4 separate regions of the Homo sapiens genome follow, and regions 2, 3 and 4 are each linked to region 1. The links are contacts of gene promoters, found by promoter capture Hi-C in blood cells and fetal thymus (Javierre and others, 2016). All regions are on one chromosome and are shown on one strand. The core of a region is centred on a gene start or on the middle of the fragment in contact, and the rest is flanking DNA. Distances in the headings are between cores, read along the strand shown.

Region 1 (3,513 bases), core at 429-2,928:
TACCCCACTGTACCATATGAACATTGCTATGATGTGATGTGGAAAAGGTTGGGAGACACTCTGCTAAACTACATTGCTGCTGTTGCCAACCATAAGGTAGTAAGGGTCTGATAAGTAGGTATAATCATCTCAACAAAAGCAGAGGCTTCTTGGAAAAACTCAGGAAAGTTTGCTCTCCCTAGGGCCTATGCTCAATAAGAACCAAGAAAGTGACACATACCATTCTGGCCCCCCACCACCCGCCAAGAAAGCATGCCCCTGAAAAGCACCGCCATTGGGCAGGCCTCATATTATAGCTATTGACCCACCTCTGTATTTTAGCCTGTCTTTGAGATGCCATAGCAACGAGACTAGGATAAGCCATGGAGGAATTGGCAGTGTGATTTTCAGCAGAGTTGTTCATGGTTTTGGGCAGCTCAAACTCTGCCACATGATAGCAATGGCACTGAGTTAAGTAGTTTATAAAGTGTTCTCGAGCCCGCTGCAAATGATCTAGACGCTTGCTGGGGTTGACTTGTTTCATGGTGAGGGCTCCTTGAAACGCTGGCACCAAAAGGTACTTCAGGTCGGTGGAAGCAATCTCTTCCAAATCTTCATTTCGGCTGGAAGAGCAAAAAGGAGGCAGTGAAGCCTGACTAGGCATTCAAATTGTGGCCCTTGCTTTCTGGGGGACGGAGTGGGAGGCTGGGCTGGGAGTGGACCAGAGGGAGGAGGCACGGGGAACAGCGGCCAGTTTCACTCAATGAAAGTGGCTGAGGGCTCACACCCAATGCCTATGCAATCAGCAGACGCTAGGAAGCAGAGTCGTAAGATATCAACCATCTGGGAAGAGAGGTGGGGAATGTAAACAATGTACACAAGATCGCAGTGGTAAGTAGGAACGAAACGTTCTCACCACTAAAGGTCCCCTCCACTCAGGCGCAATGGCTCCACCCTTGGTAACCATTATTACCTTCGTTCTCAGCCATTATTACTATCTTCCCCCATACCTGAACAAGTCGAGCTGCGATAACATTTCGGCAGCCTTCTCAAGGAGGTCCAAGCCCTTGAACACCTTCTCCTGGACTATCCGGGAACCGGCGGGTTCAGTCGCCACTTCTACTTCGTCCAGTAACTGTCTACCAGTTTCGAACAGCTCGGGGAGCCGCGGCAGCTGTAACTCGTCCTCAGCAGCCATCTTGGGGAGAGAGGAACCCGGAAGATCTCTTTTCCGGGGTCAAAGGCAACCTTGATAAAGAAGAATTAGGCGAGCGCGGACAAAACCGGAAGAAGCACCTCATTGGTCCAGTAGCTTCACTGTTAACAAAGCATCAAAGGACTTCCGGGAGCCGCTGTTAGCCGGCCCTGGCAACCGTTTCCATAGACTCATTTTACCAGGCAGCCCGTTACAAGTCGTAGGCATCTGTTAAAAGCAAACAAACAAGCAAAACCCTAGGCGCTGTTTTACCATGAGCTCCTCGTCGCCGACACGGGGCTGAGAAGTTCTGTGGGCTCTGAAGCCCGGGTGAGGCGAGGCTGAATTCGGAGCGCGAGGAGTGCGGACGAGCGAGTGCGTTTTAGGAGCCAGTCTGGCGCGCCCCTTACCTCGCGAGTAGCTCCCTAGGTTGAGGAGTCCAGGGACTCTAGCCGCCGCACCACTCCCACGGTTTGAAGATCCGGTCGCTTGAGCGCGAAGTGCAAGTAGCGCCCCCCTGCGGTTTCCGTCCACCCACCAGATGGAGCTCCGGGTTCCTCCCAGCCAATCCTCTCCCGTCCTCTTCCCCCTTCACCCCACACACGCCTACGACCCGTAGGCCGGCGTCCGGTGGAGCCCCCCTCAGCAAGATTGGCAACCTGCAACTCCGGTCACCGCACAGCCGGCTTCCCTTCGTGCACTTAGTTCCTACATCAAATGTTATTTCTGTGCAACCTTCCTTGTCTCTCTACCGCCTTCCACCCTGTGCCCTTCAGCCGCCAAGTCTGGGTTTCTCCTATGCATCTCTATCATGGCACCTACCACGCTGTATAATTGCTAGTGACTTACAAATCTCTCTTATCAGAATGAATTTGACTCATCTTTGCACCACTCTGGCTAGCCTGAGTACTCAGTATCAGTCATTATCTGAATAAAAAAAAAAAGTGATCAGTTTGGAAAGCAGCCAACTTATGCAGAACAGCATTGTTCAGTAGGTAGTTACTAGCTACATGTGGTTACTAAGCACTTGAAAGTGGCTATTTTGAATCGAGATGTGCTGCAAGTGTAAAAAACACCCCAGATTTCAAAGACATTTAAAAAAAAAAGAATGAAAAATGTAAATACTTTTTACATGGACTACATGTTGAAATGATAGTCTTTTGGATATGTTGGATTAAATATATTATTAGAATTAATTGTACTTCTTTCTTTTCACTTTGTAAATGTGCCTGCCAGATAATTTAAAACTATATTTGTAGCTCCCATTATATTTCTACTGGACAGAACTGATGGAAAACATAATTTCAGGACTTCAAAGAAGGGACGTCATTGTTTTGAACAAAGCAATATAAATACATACTGATTACCTTAGGACGCAGCCTGAATTGTCCTAGGAGATTTAAGTAGCAGGCACACTGTCTACCCCTGAAAATAAACTTTTAAACTAGTATTTTAAACTACATATCGTTGAGAAGAAAAAAAGCTTCATTAAAAAACAACTAGAGGGCAATATAGGACAGTATAAAATAGGTGATATGTTGTATTGCACAGGCTGTTGGAAAAGCAAGAAAGGGCAAGTCATCCCATGCTAGGAGTAGTTCAGAAGGCTTCTTAGACATGACATGCGGTCACATAGAAGAATGTCAAAGTTTAAAGGGAACCCCCAAAATCGGAGGAAAAACTTGAGACCAGAAAGGTTAAGGGACTTGTCCAGCCAGTTTGTGACAAAGTCAGTGACTTCTGCGTTCAATTGTTTCTACTCCATTAACCTTCAGTTGGGTAGGATTTAGAAAGATGAAGACCTTTAATGTGGGACAGATTGAAGCCCCAAACTAGAACAGTGCTTCCTAAGAGGGAGAGGAGGCTGTGGCACACATGTAGGTTGAAAAAGCTTCCCAGGTGATTCTAATAAACCTTCCCTTGCAACCCCTGCTTTATAAACTAAGAAGGAAGTGAGGCTTTGGCGAATTACCTATTTGGTTTATCTGGCACCTCTAGTAAACTGACCTTTCAGGGTCAGGCTTGGCAGGGAATATAAAGAAAAAGATAGTACTTGTGGAGGAGACTTAGAAATGTAGTAATTGTGAGAGTAAAGATAATTTGCTTCTCTGCATTTGCTTGGATTAAAACATGTCTTTACTGTTACTTAAGAGGAAAAAAATGTGCACAGTCTTAATTTGGTCTTAAACTTTGTAAGTCATTTTTTATGGCTTTCAAAATTAGTCTTTTTTTTTTTTTTTTTTTGAGACAGGGTCTCACTCTGCCACCCAGGCTGGAGTGCTGGAATGCATTGGCACGATCTTAGCTCACTGCAAACTCCGCCTCCTGGACTCAAGTGA
Region 2 (3,513 bases), core at 373-2,872, 1.6 Mb after region 1:
AAATCCTACCCATCCTTTGAAGTCCTTTCAAATATAACTTCCACCATGTAGCTTGGTCACCCCAACTGGACATGATAGCATTTTCCTTTAAATTTCTGTAATATTCTTTGTGTAACTTTCTCTTACATACTGCCTTATTTTAGCATTGTATACTTGTCTTATCCCTAAAACTTAAGACTGGTAGCACCATAGAGGCAGGCCCTTTGCATTCCCTACAGCAACTAGCACAGTGCATTACTCATTGTGGGAGTTCACTAAACATTTGTTGAATGGAAGCGGATTGCATATTGAGTAATGAGTGATCAGAACCACTGAAGTTAACTGGGGAAAGCTTCACAGAAGAGGGGTGGAGAAGTTTAAATGAAAGAAACTAAAAACTACTAAGCACCTATGACAATGTCACAGTAGGCACAATGTATATATTATCTCATTTAGTACTCTCACTAATTCAGTGATGTGTTCCTATCACCATTTTCCAAAGGAGGAAACTGGGGTTCAGCCTGATTTTACTCAAGGTCACGATAGAACTTAACACAACTCACTCTTATTGCCATATCCCCAGTGCCTAAAGGAGTGCCTGGAACATAGTAGCGGATGCTCAATAAATATTTGTTGAGTGAGTGAAGAGGTGAACAAATGGAGCTAGTAAGCAGCAGAGCTAGGACTAGAATTAAGTTCACTGATCTCCCAGCTCAGTTCACTATGTTAAGTTGCTAATTCAAAACAGAGGAAAGGGGGCCAGGCACGGTGGCTCACACCTGTGTCCCAGCACTTTGGGAGGCCGAGGCGGGCAGATCACCTGACGTCAGGAGTTCGAGACTAGCCTGGCCAACGTGGTGAAAGCCCGTCTCTACAAAAATACAAAAATTAGCTGGACGTAGTGGCAGGCGCCTGTAATCCCAGCTACTCAGGAGGCTGAGGCAGGAGAATCACTTAAACCCCAGAGGTGGAGGTTGCAGTGAGCTGAGATTGTGCCATTGTGCTCCAACCTGGGTGACAAGAGCAAAACTCCGTCTCAAAAAAAGAAAAAGAAAAAAAAAGAGGAAAGGGAAGAACCATTTACTGAGCAACTACTATATAACTAAACACATTGAGAAGAGGGACAGGAGCAGAATATTGACCTCATTATACTCCTCAGTTCATGGTACTGATAGTATTAGACACGTTACATAAATTATGCCATTTGATCTTTCTAAAAACTGTTTTGAGGCAGGTATTTTTATCTCCATTTTACAGATGAAGAAACACCCTCCCTAAAATGACTTGCCGAAACTCACAAAGTGGGTGGATTCCATCCCAAGTAAAGTTTAACTCCAAAGCCTGTGTTCTTAAAATACTTGTCCACACTTTGGGCTTGCAGTGGAAATTCTATCCCTTGCAGAGACAGGAGCAAGAGAGTATAGTGAAGATGGCCGGGCACAGTGGCTCACGCCTGTAATCCCAACACTTTGGAAGGCCGAGGCAGGAGGATAGCTTGAGCCCAGGAATTCGAGACCAGCCTGGGCAACATGGTAAAACCCCGTCTCTACAAAAAAATACTAAAAATTAGCCTGGTGTGGTGACACGCACCTGTGGTCCTAGCTACTAGGGAGGCTGAGGTGGGAGGATCACGTGAGCCTGGGAGGCAGAGGTTGCAGTGAGCAGAGACCGCGCCACTGCCCTCCAGCCTGGGTGACAGAGTGAGACCTTGTCTCGATTTTTAAAAAAGTAAAAAATAAGAAAGGAGAACAAGTATGGTGAAGAGAATGGCAAGGAGCTGCGACAGGGGTTAAACCTGGCCTACTGGGGTCACTGAACAAGTCAATACTAAAGTTATAAGCAACAAAACGTTAATGTCCCACGGGAAGCAATCTCTCATTATTCCTTCAACAAAGGCTGGTGACAGGTTTTGATAAAATGAGGGGACAGCAGAAGAAAAGATAACTTAAGAAATCACCTAAAGTTCGCCATTTAACACAATGTAGGGGACGATGACGAGACCTGGGAGGATGGGAAAGGAAAGATCGGAGTTTCACAAAAAGACCTGGAAGGAACCACGAGGGCAGGGGGCAAAGCGGTTAGCGCAAAGAACAGGTGCAGTGTTGGGACTGGTTCTGGCATCGGGTACAAGAAGGGCCTGCCGGGCGGAAGGAGCTCCGGCTCTCAGGCCACGAGCCCGTCCCCCGACTTCTTTAGGGGGCACTCTGCCTCACCCTCGGTCCCTTTTGTCGCAGATCCCAAGCTCACCAGGGGCCTGGGCGATGCTGTCCCCGGGTCTCCTGGAGACTCCTCCGCTTCCGCCATCTTGGCCCTCCTTCTCCCGGGTCGCTCCCACAGGTCTTTGCGGAACCTGCGACGTGGAGGCCACTGCCGGTCAGCGCGTCATCGCGTGACGGCCGCGTCACCTAATGGCGCCTGGCAATGGCCGGCGGCCCCGGCCCTTCGCTGTCCCTCGGTCCTCGGGGTGTCAGGGACAGCTCCGCGTCGCCTTGTCTCGCTTCTTCGGGGCCACGGGTCCAGCTAGACACGCTTAGCCTTTAACACTCAAGCCGGATTCTCAGACCGCTCCTTCGCTCTCGCGACCACGGCTGCCCTCTCCACCCCACCGACTCCCGCCCATTTCCCGTTCTCAGGAGTTGGCTTGGAGTGCCAGACCCTCGATCACGGCACCTCTAGGAAAGAGCCTGCCTCTCTTCCTTCCCTTCCCCGGCTACCGAGCGACTTCAAGTTTTCGTGCGCCGGAATGACGGGCTCAAGCCCCAACCTCCTGCTCCCTCCGCCGCCGCCCCTGCCCCTCTGACTCTGCGCCTCTCCTGCTGCTCGCAAGCCTCTTCCCACTTCCTTGACTTTTATAAACCTCTCTACTGCCTCCACGCCGACCCTCCAGGATTACTTTTCTCCAGCACCTCTGGCGGTGGGCAGGGAAGAAGCTTCATTGGCCAAACTTGTTAATCCCACTTCAAAAGTTGCTAAACCATTTGGAGCAAGTACTGAAAATGTTCAGGGTCTAAAAGAGAGTAACTATTGTGACAATAACTTAAAAGATAATCTTCATGTCCCAACCTGTTTTCCTTATCTCATCCTTTTGGGCTTTCAAGGTATTTCTGGTCCCAGTTTACGTTGGCCCCAGGCTAAAATGTAGTCAGACAGGGCAGCCATTGTTGACAGCATCAGCATCCAGGATACCTGGGTGCCCTTTGGTGGTGTTAAGCATTTAACCAACAAGGCAGGGGATGGCTGTGAAATAAAAGTGTTTTATATTTTTGGATAGGCAATCCAAGTAGTAAATTTAAGGAGGAAGAATGTGGAATGTGGAGGGACAAAATTCCAAACGAATGGAGGTGTTTTTTTTTTTTTTTTTTGGTGTTTGTTGTTTTGTTTTGTTTACGATAATTCCCCTTCAGACCAAGCACAATTTTAGTACTTGCACAAATACTGGTGGAAGTGATATTAAAATTTAAGCCAGTAGACATGAAATCTTTTTGCAATTGCAAGGGAATATCATGTACAAATGTCCCAACCCCAGCCTGAGCT
Region 3 (3,513 bases), core at 980-3,479, 1.4 Mb before region 1:
ATTTACTGAATCTTGTACTGAAAGGGAAAACCAGAATGGCTGCATGGGTACTCGAAGTATGATTTCTATTGAATATGTATGTCTTTTGCACCATTGTCAAGTTGAAAAAATATTTAAGTCAAATCATTGTTCTCTGTAAGTCACATACTGCCTATACCGCCAGAGAAACAAAGATATAATGTCACTGGCTAAGACCTATTATTTAGTTCTAGTAAAAACACTACATGCGTAAGCACTTCAAAAATACCAATTATTAATTTAATGACTAACCTTTTCAAAGTGATGAATTGCAAGCCAAATTTCCCCTTGTGCATTGAAAACACAGCCAAGATTACTCCAAGCTACTGCAAAGTTCGGTTGCGTCTCAATTGCTTTCAAATAACATGCCTTAGGAGGGGTTAATGAAAGAAGATGGGAGGGAAAGGAGGTAAAGGGAAAGGGGAAAATTTGTAAAGGGAAAAAAAAAAGATTGGGGGGAGGGGGGGAAGAAGGTGATATCATTATTCCTTCTCTGACCAGCCAAAAGTGACCCTGCAGCATAGGCTCGCTTGCGCCAAAACTAATGCGCTGCCACAGCTGGCTGCTCCTGCGCCTGCGCCACCAGAACCCAAGTGCAAACCACCATGTTCAGTTCTGCCAACCAAAGACCAACCCTTACACTGGGACTTAACTGGGAAGTCAGTTGCTATAAGGCTCTATGCTGGAGTTCTCTTATCCAAACAACTACGGGCCCTTGTCATGTTTTCAAGTGCTACCTAGAGGGCGCAACTTGAGGCCGAGTTTTCCTACCCCCACTGTTTCCCAAAGTGTGTTCTATGAGGTGTTAAGAGGTATGGCTGAAAAAAAAAGGAGTTCATGATCAAATAAATTCGGAAAATAGGTTTCTTTACTGGACTTCCCTAAGCCTTTAATAGTGTAACAGGGTTCCCTGAACTTAGTTGACCATGGAACTCTTCTTTCATTGGGCATTTTATTAGAATACTATGAAACACATTTTGGGAAATGCTGCTCTTCAACAATGTTCCTCACTAACATCAAAACTATGCTACTGAGGAGAAAAATGTCTTTCTGCCAAGTAGGATATCATAAAGCCAGGCTTTAAGTTACATTCTCACAATGCCCCGTCTCCCAAGGAGGACTGAAGCTGAAACCTCACATGACAGGATTGCACCTAGGTTGAGGTCCCTGTAATGCGAGCGCAAACATCGCTTGCGCAACCTAACAGCATCGCACTGCGCAATCGCTGCGAACTGCTGCGCTACATAGAACACCCCTAGACGCAGCAAACGGCCAACCAGATCCATTAATCTACTAGACAGGCCCATGGAGAATATTTGTTTAATGAGATTAGTTGGACTCGAGGTATGTTAAAACCCAATTTTATCCAAAAAGGCTACAGAATAGGACTGAGGGAGCCAGTCAATCAGATTACTCATCTAGTCAACCGTTCACAGGGGTTCATTCGCACGCAATGCGCATTAACGCTGCGCAGCCTTTGCGCTACTGCAGGGTCACAGCGCATCATCAGAAGAGCAGAATGCTGCAATCCAAACAAAGAAGAAAAAAGGAAAAAAAATGAACAACAAGAAGAGTTAGAAGCTTTTACTAAGTAAATTATCTCTAATAATTTTTAATATCAATTAACTTTTACTTATCTTTGACAGAATTGTGGCTATAGTATAAAACATTCTCTTACATAACTTGCTTGTAAATAAAATTATTTTAAGCTGTTTCTGAAGCCACAAGACAGAAGATTCAGGCATGGAGGCAAATTGTTTTGCTGTGGCAGTTACAAACCCGTTACCATATTTCTCATCATGTGACTTTTCGGTGCGTTCCTTGCTGGAAGAGGAGGAGGAGGTTGTGTGTCTGCCCTAGATCCAGGCCTCGAGCTCCCTTCAGCGAGGCACCTTACGCATGGAATAGGAGGTTTCACCCACCTGAAACCTTCTAAATACAATATCAATGGTGAAAAACCAAAAACAAGAGAGAAAATAAAAACAAGATCATTAGTAAAAGTTCAACAAAGCAATTGAAATTCTTTGGATGTCTATTACATATGGGAATGAGGACAGTCTCAAGTCTGTAATATGGGAAACATGCAGAAGGGAGAGGGTTAATCAGGGCTATTGCATACAGCAGGGATTTTTGCTGGAAGAAAGGCTCTTCATTTTCTACAAAGACAACTTAATTTTGCTTCCATCTACTAGGAATATGCTGGCTTGAATTTTCAAATGCACTGATTACAAAAGAAATACATTGCATTTCACTCAAGAGTATTTTCTTGTTTACTAAGTTCTCACAAAAAAACAGAATAACATTTTTCAAACTAGGTGTCTCCAGAGCTCTGAAATAAAGAAGTCAGCAACCTAAGGCAGGCGCAATGTCTCAGCCTAAACCGATCTCTAAAGCTGCAGTGAAGTGCAATTCATGTTAGCTGTCCGCTTGGTGGGGTGACAATTAATAGGAGCTTATCAAATATTTGTTCTATAAATTACCAATTAGATTTATCAGCTAAGATTGAAATCAATTACAATTCATTAGCTGGCAACCTACATAAGGTTAATCCAAAATGTCAGCAGAATTTATGAGCTGTGCACTTAAAACTAGTGCCTTTTAAAACATTAGATGGTGCTGAAAAGCCTTCTCCCTCCCTGGATGAAGCAGTCAAACAGACAGCTACTCTGCGCATACACTCCACGCATTAGCATGCGCGTGGGGCTCAGAGCAACAGGTGGGAGTTTCAGAAGCATTCTGGTTTCTCCCCACTCCTCACCCCTGCAGCGCGGTTGCGTAAGGTGGCTTGTAACAAGACAACTGCATTTATAAATTTAATTTTAAATTATACCAAAAGCTTTAATTAACCCAACCTGGTGTTCAAATTCATTATTTGGAAACACAGAATGCTAAAAGCCACCTTTCCACTTTGGCAAGTTTTCTTTCGATCAGTCCATTTCCCAAACAAACCAGCTTTGTCCTTCTGACCTTTTTTTTAAGGGGTTGGGGTGGGGAGGAATAAAAGAAGGAAATGAGGAAGAAAAGAAGGTAGACAACTAGGATTGGAAAAGAGGAAAAAGGAACTTGGGAAGGGAGTGGGGACAAGGGACAGGATGTTCCAATTATTAATTTGTAATCATTTTAACAGCCTTTCTTCCACTGTAAAAAGGGTGAGGAAGATGAAGGGAGGAAGGTTAAATAAGAATTTTAAATGCCAGTATTACAGGGTAACATTTGGATGAAATTCTTCTCCACTTACAAGCCACAAAGGACTTAGAAGAGCAGCATTTTCAATGGCACCTGCATCATATAGGAGTCTTGAGCCAAATCACAGGCGCTCTGCTTGTCACCAGCAGGCAAGCCTCAGATTTGAAGGAATGTTATTTATTCCCACATAAGATCATGACGGAGCCCAGTGTTATAAAGATGGTCTAGCTCAGCAGAAAGGCTCCAAAATGTTCAGGTTCTTGCTTTACCCCCAGATTTAGAACAGATATGCCAAAGCCTGGCCCTGCT
Region 4 (3,513 bases), core at 1-2,500, 1.3 Mb after region 1:
GGGAGGGGGTGTGGGGGCGAAAGGAGAGGTCCGGTCCAGGCCGACTGTCCCTCGGGGGCCTGAGGCCGTGCCGGGCACTCAGACCTTGTAGTAGATGTTCGCCGGGCTCTGGGGCGGCATCTCTTGGACGATGTAGACAGGGTGCCCGTAGTCCCCACTCACCTTCTCATAGTGGGGGCAGTAGTTGTTCTCTGTAGTCCGTAAGGGAATGATGATGTCGCTGGGCTCGGTGCCCGCTGTGCCACTGCCCCCCTTGGGACTGGCCAGGGTACTGAGCGAGAGGGCAGCCGCCCGCTGCTGTGTGTGCTTGCGGTGCCGCTTGCGTAGCTTCAGTAGTAGGACCGTCAGGAAGATGATGATGAGCAGGAAGATGACGCAACCGGCACCGACAGCCGCGAACAATGCCACCTTGGAGTTGAAGAAGCCATCAGGGTCCCCGCTGCTGCCCCCACTTGCACCTGGGCCACTCTTCTCTTCCTGGTTCACAGTCTCTGAGGAAGGGAAAGGGGAAGGAACAGTCAGCCAGGGGTCCCAGGGACACACAGCAGATTTCAGGCCAGGCCCAGCTTGCATTTCTTCAGGGACAGGGCCTAACAAGGTGACAGAGCAATGGCTCCTGACCTCTGGGAAACACATACACTTACCATGCTTGCCATCAGAGTCACCCAGGGAGCCCCGACTACCAGGGGCCTGTGTGGCCATCTTGACAGTGTTGTCTGCCTCCTTGCTGGGCCTGCTGGTAGTCAGCTGCTCAGGCGTCACAGCATTGGGATCTAAGAATGGAGACAGAACAGGTGAGAGGCAGGGACCCGGCCAGCATAGGTGCCCTCAGTCATCAAGGGTGGGCCAAGAATGGCCTGGATACTGTAACCCTACGCCTGCTCCCCCACTCCTAATACACATGCACCCAGCCAGGAACATCTGTTCCAAAGGTCAAACAGGGTGGGGTGAGGGGACCCTCAGACTAGGCACTCACCTTGCCCAACCTTCATGATGATCTTCATGGTGCGTGTGCGGCACACACCGCCCTCCCGGTTTTCCAGCCCCTCCAGGCTTCCATTGGATGTTGCTGCAGGAAGAGGCCAGAGAAGTCAGAGAAGTCAGGAGGAGAGAAAGGTCTACTAGCATTACCCAGAAACTCCCATTCTGCTTCAGCCAACAGGGAGAGAAACTGCAGTCGGGAGAAGCAAGCAGCTCCCATCTACCAGTGAACCTTTTCATTTTCTTCCCTCCCACTAGGAACAAAATGGCCTAGTCCAGCCCAGGCCAAGAACAAGCCCCACCCCCAGGGGCACTGCTCCTCTGTCACGAGCAGGCCATGGCCCCTCGGTAAGGTCTGCCTCCTCACTGGGATCATAATGGGGGCTTCTACATAGACTGAAAGGAATTCTGGAGTAGGAATCAGGAGAACTGGGTTGGAGTCCTGACCCTATCTCTAACTCACTGTGTGATCTAAGGCAAGAAGTCCCTTCACCTTTTGGGGCCTTGGTTTCCCCTGAAGAAAAAGGCTGAATAGCTGGCTGATCCCAAAGGGCCTGGCATATGTTACCATTCCCAATATTAGAACTTAGGTGGGCAAAGAAAATAAGAGAGAAGCAACACGAATTGGAGACCTCTCCTGCCCAACCCCTGGAGCCAAGGTGAGCTTGGTAAATGTTGGGGCGAGAATTCCAAGGCCAGGCTAAGAGGAGAACATGCCAGTCTTCAAAGGGGATCAGATCCAGCAGGGTCTTAACTACATGCAATAGCATTGCACCACTTAGAAGCTCCCACTACTACAGGAGAGGAAAGAGTTAAGCCCAGGGAGAGAGCCAGAGGATGGGATGGGCGGGACTCACAGGTAATGTAGTAATCATGGTGCTTCTTGAACTCCAGGCCCATGTAGTTGGGGCTGAACTCCTGGAACTTGATGGTAAAGCGTATTTCCTGCTCTGGCCTATTGCAGGTGACCAACACGTTGGGGTCGAGAACTGTGCTACAGGCAGCTGCCTGCTCAGGCCGCACCAGGTACAGCTTGTAGTACTCATAGGGCCGCCCTGCTTCTGCTCGGGGGCAGATGATGTCCAGCTTGTCTCCAATTTTCGGATAGATCACCAAGCCCTTCCCACTCAGGAACCTGCCCAGAAGGAAGAAGATGGTCAGCCTCAGGGTTGGGGGTGGCCCCAGGCCATTCCAGAACCAGGGAAGCGGACAAGAGCCGGGCTGGGCCTACTGGGTGGAGATGGCAAGAGCAAGCCTTCTGCCCTTCCTCCATCCTCAGGCTGGGGGTGGGGAGAGAGAACCACACTACCAGGAGAGTGTGGAAGGGGTGGCCCATGGGCAAGGCTGCCAGGCTCTGACTGCTCGGCAGGGTGGAGCACTGCCTGGCTGGGGGAGCCCTTTGTCCTAATGTGGCATTTCCGCAGGGGGCTGACGTGGCCAATGGGCTGGGTACCAAGGTGTCAGGCCCATGCTACCTGGAGGTGGCAGTCTTATATACCCCCACCCCCAACAAAGATTCCTTCATGACCGCTGCTACTACCTCTCCTATACCCATACACACGTGCGCGCGCGCGCGCGCACACACACACACACACACACACACACACACACACACACACATACACACACACACAGCAAGCCCACACATGTCTTAGTCACCACTCCCCGCAGCTCCCAGCCAAAGGCTGGGGGAGCTCAATCTGTCTGGGACCCATGTCTTCTCCCCCATCCTTACTAATCTTGGTCATGATGGAAAGATAGGAACAGGCATCGCCTGGAGCAAAGGGATGATGGCCACAGTCTCTGGCCAGGTGCAGCTCTGCTCACTCCCACTGCCTATTGTCCTACTGGCAATTCATCCCACCCTCAAAATGCAAGAGCCTGAATTCCTAAACTTGATTCATCTCATTCTTAAAAAGAACAGAGGAGAAGAGAAGGGGCTCAACCAGAGACAACAGATCATAGAAGATAGGGCCTCATCTGTATCCTAACCTGTCACCTCTATGTTGCTCCTACTCCAGCTCCTGAGAGGAGATGGACAAATGCCTTTTGAGCCAGGTTCATATTCTAATCCAGAAGGCCAGGCACTGGGGGACAGCAGGGAGGGTCAGCAGCCCAGGACCACCTATCCATAGGACTCTGTCCTTGCCTAAGCACACAGAAAGAAAATGGTGCTCCATTGGCCATTTCTGAGACTGGATGGGCTGGTGCTGAGAGCAAGGCAGAACCATGTAGGAGAAAGAACACAGACTTTAGAATCAGATTCCAAAGCTAGGCCCTTACTAACTCTGTGACCTTGGATGAGCTGCCTGTTCTGAGCTTCAGTTTCTTCTCTTGTAAAGTGGGGGTGGCAAGAGCCCCTACCTTCCAATATTGTGGTGGGGAGACAAGGCAGCACATGGAGAACACCTAGCACACAATAGGCGTTCAACATGTTTGACTGCCTCTTAGAAGCAGTCTCCCAAGAGGCAGGAGGTCAGATACTAACACTAAGTACCTATGAGCTCACTCTCATATTTTGGAGGGGAAACA

Evidence for each region. The method cuts DNA at HindIII sites, captures the fragments that hold promoters and counts their contacts. A CHiCAGO score of 5 or more calls a contact.
Region 2: a fragment that was not itself captured here is called in contact with the fragment with the promoter of IGBP1 in region 1 in 1 of 17 cell types (total B cells); the score reaches 6.2 in total B cells.
Region 3: a fragment that was not itself captured here is called in contact with the fragment with the promoter of IGBP1 in region 1 in 1 of 17 cell types (neutrophils); the score reaches 6.0 in neutrophils.
Region 4: a contact is called between a fragment that was not itself captured here and the fragment with the promoter of IGBP1 in region 1, in 1 of 17 cell types (total B cells). The highest score is 6.1, in total B cells.

What each region holds. Positions count from the first base shown.
Region 1 is chrX:70,131,612-70,135,124 of GRCh38, reverse strand. IGBP1 (immunoglobulin binding protein 1) reads right to left here and starts at 1,678. Exons shown (of 7, transcript NM_001551.3): 1 at 1,585-1,678; 2 at 990-1,402; 3 at 309-602. The coding sequence starts at 1,177. RefSeq lists an enhancer at 800-1,259. The HindIII fragment of the contact is 12,060 bases long and covers 1-2,659 here.
Region 2 is chrX:68,497,837-68,501,349 of GRCh38, reverse strand. It overlaps YIPF6 (Yip1 domain family member 6), which reads right to left and starts at 2,299. Exons shown (of 7, transcript NM_173834.4): 1 at 2,227-2,299. The coding sequence starts at 2,283. RefSeq lists enhancers at 2,181-2,660, 2,459-3,133. The HindIII fragment of the contact is 2,578 bases long and covers 334-2,911 here.
Region 3 is chrX:71,544,781-71,548,293 of GRCh38, reverse strand. It overlaps OGT (O-linked N-acetylglucosamine (GlcNAc) transferase), which reads right to left. Exons shown (of 22, transcript NM_181672.3): 5 at 271-387. Among named protein-coding and RNA genes, the nearest start is that of OGT, 13 kb to the right of the region's middle. The HindIII fragment of the contact is 1,255 bases long and covers 1,602-2,856 here.
Region 4 is chrX:68,837,220-68,840,732 of GRCh38, reverse strand. It overlaps EFNB1 (ephrin B1), which reads right to left. Exons shown (of 5, transcript NM_004429.5): 2 at 1,839-2,116; 3 at 977-1,069; 4 at 645-773; 5 at 1-491. The coding sequence ends at 79. Among named protein-coding and RNA genes, the nearest start is that of EFNB1, 10 kb to the right of the region's middle. The HindIII fragment of the contact is 8,288 bases long and covers 1-3,513 here.